Regions from separate parts of the Homo sapiens genome. Here region 1 is linked to region 2. The links are contacts of gene promoters, found by promoter capture Hi-C in human tissues and cell types (Jung and others, 2019). All regions are on one chromosome and are shown on one strand. Each heading gives the region's core, a stretch centred on a gene start or on the middle of the fragment in contact. The rest is flanking DNA. Distances are from core to core; before and after follow the strand shown. Region 1 overlaps SCLT1 (sodium channel and clathrin linker 1). Region 2 holds the start of MFSD8 (major facilitator superfamily domain containing 8).

Region 1 (3,333 bases), core at 633-3,132, 960 kb before region 2:
CTGTTACAAACTATATATGAACAGTAATAAATGTAAAACAAAGTAATAAATATATATGAACAGTAATATATTTATTGTATATTACTGAATGAGATACTAGAAGCAATGTAGAATAAAGTAATAAATATATATGAACAATACTATTCTCATACATTCCATCTGGGACTACTTTCCTTATGTCTGAATTATGTCTTTCAGAAGTTCCTTTGGTAAAGATCTACTGGTGGTGAATTCTCAACTGCTGCTCATAAAATATATTTACTTTTTGTTTATTCTTGAAAGATATTTTTGCTGGGTATGGAATTCCAAGTTGACAGGTGTTTTCTTCTAGAACATTAAAGATAACATCTTTGGGAGCTGTGAACTGACAAAACATCAAGAGTTTATGCAGTAATAAGAGACATGAGAGTTCCAGTCGGCCAGAGTGGAACATCCTTGTTGAACACCCAGAGTATACAATAAAGATTTCAGGATCACTTTATCCTATTGTTAAAACTAAACTAGCCTAGAGTAAAAAGAATTGAAAATCTGTCTTGAAAAAGCTAAAAACAAGCTTCAAAATGAACAAGCTGGTCCTCAAGTAACTTAATTACCTGCCAGAACAAATCCAACAAAATAGATAAACAAAAGCAGGAAAATGGTACCCATAACCAGAAAAAAAGAAAAACAAAAACTAGTGCATCAAAACACACCCAGAAATGAGAGGGGATAAAATTATTATTTTTTTAATTTTTATTAATTAATTAAAATTATTAAAACATGAGAACTTTAAACCAGCCATTGTAAATATTCTTAGTGATTTAAAGGAACACATGAAGATGATAAGGAGAGAAGTGGAAGATGCAAAAAAGGAACCAATGGAAACCTGTGGATGAAAAATATTAGAGAATTTTAAAACTCACAAAATGGGATTAACAGCAGATCATACACTGCACAAGAAAAGATCAGAGAACTTGAAGAGAGCGAAAGAAACCATCCAAAAATGAAACATAGTGAGAAAAAAAGACCAAAGAAAAATTATGCACAGAGAGCCTCAGAGACTTTAGGGACAATATCAAGCAGTATAAAATACATACAACTGTAGTCCCAGGAGGGCAGGGATGGGAGTGTGGGAGTGTTTTAAGAAATAATGGGCCAGACACCGTGGCTGACGCCTGTAATCCTAGCACTTTGGGAGGCCAAGGCAAGTGGATCACTTGAGGTCAGGAGTTCGAGACCAGCCTGGCCAACATGGTGAAACCCCATCTCTGCTAAAAATACAAAAATTAGCCAGGAGTGGTGGCACATGCCTGTAATCTCAGCTACTTGGGAGGCTGAGGCAGGAGGCAGAGGTTGCAGTGAGCCAAGATCATGCCGCTGCACTCCAGCCTGGATGACAGAGTGAGACTCCAGCTCCAAAAAAAAAAAGAACTAACGGCCAAATTTTTTCCAAACTTGATGAAAACGCTTTGTGTAGTTATCTACTACTGCATAACAAATTGCTCCAAAATTTAGTGACTTAAAACAGCGAACATTTATTTTCTCACAGTTTTTGAGGATTAGGAATCTAGACATGTCTGAATCAGAATGCCTCTGACTCAGGGTTTCTCATAAAGTTGCAATCAACGCATTGACTAAAGCTGCATTATCTCAGAGCTTGACCAGGAAAGGATCTGCTCCCAAGCTCACTCTGTAGGTGTTGGCAGGCCTCGGGTCTTAACTGGCATTGGCAGGAGACATCAGTTCCTTGCCTTGTTGGTCTCTTTATGGGTCTAAAATGTGGTAGCTTGCTTCCCTCAGAGTGAGGAGAGAGGAGTGAGGGAGAAAGGGAAGGAAGTTGAAAGAGAGAAAGTAAAACAAAAGTCAAGATCTTTGTTTAAGCTAATCTTGAAAGTGACATCATATCACGTTAACCATATTCTATCAATTAAAAGTGAGTCCCTGGGTAGAGCCCACATAGGTGAGACTTCATAAGGACCTCATAAGGTAGGGATCATTGAGGTTCGTTTCAGAGCTTACGTGCCACGCCATTACATCACACCATACACAAAAATAACCTGAAATGAATCATAGACCTAAGCATAAAAAAGGAAAACAATAAAATATCTAAAAGAAAATCTTATGATAAGCAAAAATTTCTTCCAAGACACAATAATAAAGTACAAAAAATTTGATAAAGTGGACTATATTAAATTAAAAACTTCTGGCCAGGGGCAGTGGCTCATGCCTGTAATCCCAACACTTTTAGAGGTCAAGGTGGGCAGATCAGCTTGAGGCTAGGAGTTCAAAACCACTCTGGCTAACAAGATGAAACCCCCGTCTCTACTAAAAATACAAAAAATTAGCCAGGTATAGTGGCCCACACTTGTAATCCCAGCTACTCAGGAAGCTGAAGAGCGAGAATTGCTTGAGCCTGGGAGGTGGTGAGCCAAGATTGTGCTACTGCACTCCAGCCTGTGCCACAGAGCAAGACTCTGTCTCAAATATAAATAAATAATAAAAAATAAAAATAAATAAAATTTTTAAAATGTCTGCTTTTCAAAAGCCACCATTAAGAAAATGAAAAAAGACTGTGAGAAAAAAATTGCAATTAGTATATCTGACAAAGTACTTGATTTTTTTTTAATCTTACAACTCAGTAATAATAGACAATTTTACTGCAAAGTTAAATGTATACTCATCATGCAGACATGCAGTTTTACTCACAGATGTTACCCAAGAGAAATGAAAACACATCCACACATAGACCAACCTGGGCAACAGAGTGAGACCTCGTCTCTACAAAATAAAAAATAATAAAATTAACCAGGCATGGCAGTGCATGCCTAAAGTCCCAGATACTTGGGAAGCTGAGGTAGGAGGATCACCTGAGCCTGGGAGTTTGCAGCTGTGAACCCTGATCATGCCACTGCACTCCAGCCTGGGCAACAGACCAAGACTCTTTCCAAAAATAAAACCAAAATATATCGACACAAAAAACCTGTACACAAATGTTTGTAGATATTTATAATGGCTGAAAATGAGAACCCAAATGTACATCACCAGGTGCATGGATAAACACTCAGAAATAAAAAGGAACAAACCACTGATACACTCAACAACATGGATGAATCTCAAAAAGGAGATTGAAAAAAAAACAGATATAGAAGACTATATACTGTATGATCCCATATGTGTGAAATTCTAGAGAAGGCAATTCTAATTTATAATGATAAAACAGTTTGGATGCCTAGGACTGGGATTTGAGGGGTGGGGCAGTGACTACAAAAGGGAAGAGGGAACTTTTTAGGGCAATGGACCTATTCTGTATCTTTTTTTTTTTTTTTTTTTTTGAGATGGAGTCTCACTCTGTCA
Region 2 (3,591 bases), core at 181-2,680:
ACAGGCATGAACCATCGCACCCAGACCGCACGTTTCAAGTTTAGGTGTTCACCAGTGAACTGCGCCTGGCTGATACACACAAGGTCACAAATGACACAAAGATCAGAAGTGATGGCATATACCATACATGACTGTGTAACTAGTATAGGACCTAGCATAGGGTAAATGCTCATAAATATTAATTTAAAAAAATTAAGTTTGGTTTCCAACTTTGCCACTTCCACACAGAGTGACTCTGGGTTAACTTGTCTGGATCTTAATTTTCAGTAAACTAGCAATGTGTCTGCTTCGCCTATCTCATAGGATACTTGTGATCAAATGAAATTACATGACAATGTATCTGGCGCTAATAAAACGGTAATTTATGAGACACAGAATGACTACTGACGCCAGCTAGCCTACAAGCCTAATAGTAGAGATAAGATGTTAATACATAACCACCAAGAAATAAACATGGAGATCTAGTGAAAACCCATGACATGTTTTCTAAAAATGTCATCTTCCTTGTGACGAAAGGAGCTGGTCATTGCTAGGCAGGTGCTGTACCTTTTTCAACTCCCACGTTTCAGCAGCAGGCTCTGCTGAGTGACATTTTGCAAGGCTGAGGCCCCCGTAGGCGCAGGCGCCGTTGGGGTGCGCATCCGGGGACCTGCAGGTTACAAGCAGCAGATCCCACCTTCAGTCCTGGCTCTGACAAGCCCTCCAGGTAAGGCGCCTTTGCATTTAGCCGAGCTAGAGAAGAGAGCTGGAAGCCACCTCTACCTTTCACGGGGGGAAGGGACTGCCCGCGCGCTCGCCCCCATTATCTCAGCCCTCCGAAGCGCGCCACGGACTCCAGCCTTGTCTCTCACCCCCAGCCTCACCCCGCGTCCCTGACCCGCGAGTCTCCCGCCCAGCTCCGCGTCCCCGGTCCCTGCCTCCAGGCGCGTACACGGCGCGCTAAGAGGCGCGGGGAGCTCTTAGCGCACCTACTACTTAACCGGACCGGCTACTTACTGGCCGCCAGGTGGAAGCCTGCGATCGAGCTGGCCGGGCCTCCCAGCACCGCCGCTCTCCAGGCTCCCTTTCCAGGACTCAACTTTGGTCCCAGCCCCAATCGCAGCTCCGGTAACCTTTCCAGGAACCGAAATGCTAGATACAGCGGAAGGAGAAACGGAGGGAGGAAGACAAACCCGGAGCAGGGCGGCGCGGCAGTTTGGACACGCCCCGAGCTCTCCTGGGCTCTCAGTCCCCGTCAGGATGGGAGGCGCGTGCCGAGGGAGGAGGCTGAGGACACAGCCTCCTTTCGCCCTGCGCTGCCCGGCCTTCCGCGTGACCCCGCCTATGACCTCGGGGCGTTCCGCCTACGTCTGACCGTCAGGTGCGCACGCGCACTTACAGGCTTGTTTTGCCAGCTTCACGCCACCCGGGATGGGAGAAAGCAGGTGTCGCGAGAGTTGGGCGCAAGACGCCTTGTAGGGAGTGTAACTATGGCCGGCCTGCGGAACGAAAGTGAACAGGAGCCGCTCTTAGGCGACACACCTGGAAGCAGGTGAGCGGATCCTGGTGGAGGGACCCCTCAGTCTCCTGCGCTGTTGGGACTGGTTCCTTTCCGGGCGTCACCCGCACTGGGACAAACCCTCGCTGCCAGAGGGGTTCCAGCGCGGTGGGAGCCGGTGGCTGGGTTGTGTGAGCCGAGGAGATTCGCTCCCAACGTAGGAGAAAGGGCGTCTGGCCGCACCGTGCGGTGATGAGCCCGTGGGTTCGAGTGACGGGGCTGGAGAAACCCAGGCTGCTGCTTTGCCTGTTGCAGCACCCAAGCTGAGAGGTGACAGCGTGCTGGCAGTCCTCACAGCCCTTGCTCGCTCTCCAGGCCTCCTCTGCCTGGGCTCCCACTTTGGCGGCACTTGAGGAGCCCTTCAGCCCACCGCTGCACTGTGGGAGCCCCTTTCTGGGCTGGCCAAGGTGGGAGCCGGCTCCCTCAGCTTGCAGGGAGGTGTGGTGGGAGAGGCGTGAGCGGGAACCGGGGCTGCGCGCCGCGCTTGCGGGCCAGCTGGAGTTCCGAGTGGGCGTGGGCTTGGCGGGCCCCGCACTGGGAGCAGCAGGCCGGCCCTGCCGGCCCCGGGCAATGAGGGGCTTAGCACCCGGGCCAGCGGCTGCGGAGGGTGTGCTGGGTCCCCCAGCAGTGCCAGCCCACTGGCGCTGCGCTCGATTTCTCGCCGGGCCTTAGCTGCCTTCCCGCGGGGCAGGGCTCGGGACCTGCAGCCCGCCATGCCTGAGCCTCCCACCCACTCCGTGGGCTCCTGTGCGGCCCGAGCCTCCCCGATGAGCGCCGCTCCCTACTCCACGGTGCCTAGTCCCATCGACCACCCAAGGGCTGAGGAGTGCGGGTGCACGGCGCGGGACTGGCAGGCAGCTCCACCTGCAGCCCCGGTGCGGGATCCACTGGGCGAAGCCAGCTGGGCTCCTGAGTCTGGTGGAGACGTGGAGAACGTTTATGTCTAGCTCAGGGATTGTAACTACACCAATCGGCACTCTGTATCTAGCTCAAGGTTTGTAAACACACCAATCAGCACCCTGTGTCTAGCTCAGGGTTTGTGAATGCACCAGTCGACACTCTGTATCTAGCTACTCTGGTGGGGCCTTGGAGAACCTTTCTGTCAACACTCTGTATCTAGTTAATCTAGTGGGGACGTGGAGAACCTTTGTGTCTAGCTCAGGGATTGTAAACGCACCAATCAGCGCCCTGTCAAAACAGACTACTCGGCTCTACCAATCAGCAGGATGTGGGTGGGGCCAGATAAGAGAATAAAAGCAGGCTGCCCACCAGTAGTGGCAACCCGCTGAGGTCCCTTTCCACAGTGTGGAAGCTTTGTTTTTTCGCTCTTTGCGATAAATCTTGCTACTGCTCACTCTTTGGGACCATACGGCTTTTATGAGCCGTAACACTCACCGCGAAGGTCTGCAGTTTCACTCCTGAAGCCAGCGAGACCACGGGGAGGAACGAACAACTCCAGACGCGCCGCCTTAAGAGTTGTAACACTCACCACGAAGGTCTGCAGCTTCGCTCTTGAGCCAGCGAGACCACGAACCCACCAGAAGGAAGAAACTCTGAACACATCTGAGCATCAGAAGGAACAAACTCCAGACGTGCCACCTTAAGAGCTGTTAACACTCACCGCGAGGGTCCGCAGCTTCATTCTTGAAGTCAGTGAGACCAAGAACCCACCAATCCCGGACACAAAGCCACCACATTCTGTATCTTCTGCATTCCATATTTGGCCCTTTGTAGCTGATCACTTTCCAGATTTCACAGTTTCAAAATGATGGTTTTAATAGATACTTGAAGGTATCGGTCTTAGTAATGACCTGCTGCCTAATTGCCTGACAACCTCTTGATAGTTTAACAAATCTGTCCAAAATGAGCTCGCCTTTGTCCTATGCCAAATGTACAAAGAAAGACTAATTTTAAGGCATTAAAGGAATAACGTCAGTATTTTGATCCTTATAATTCTGGTTGTTCTGATCCTAGTTTATGGGCAGTGACTCGGGAATGTATACCTAATGTATTTTTACCTTTAGGAAAACGGAATTACTATTTTATTTGAAATA

What was found. The method cuts DNA at HindIII sites, captures the fragments that hold promoters and counts their contacts. A contact is called where the count stands out against the background at its distance.
Region 1: a contact is called between a fragment that was not itself captured here and the fragment with the promoter of MFSD8 in region 2, in 1 of the 25 tissues and cell types used here (dorsolateral prefrontal cortex).

Annotation. Positions count from the first base shown.
Region 1 is chr4:128,923,423-128,926,755 of GRCh38, reverse strand. All of the region lies in intron 18 of SCLT1 (sodium channel and clathrin linker 1), which reads left to right. Among named protein-coding and RNA genes, the nearest start is that of JADE1, 120 kb to the right of the region's middle. The HindIII fragment of the contact is 3,334 bases long and covers 216-3,333 here.
Region 2 is chr4:127,963,012-127,966,602 of GRCh38, reverse strand. It overlaps MFSD8 (major facilitator superfamily domain containing 8), which reads left to right and starts at 1,430. Exons shown (of 12, transcript NM_001371596.2): 1 at 1,430-1,531. The coding sequence starts at 1,470. It overlaps ABHD18 (abhydrolase domain containing 18), which reads right to left and starts at 1,197. Exons shown (of 13, transcript NM_001358451.3): 1 at 997-1,197. RefSeq lists enhancers at 1-319, 998-1,613, 1,204-1,623 and silencers at 714-943, 2,064-2,113, 2,124-2,253, 2,364-2,473. The HindIII fragment of the contact is 8,084 bases long and covers 1-3,591 here.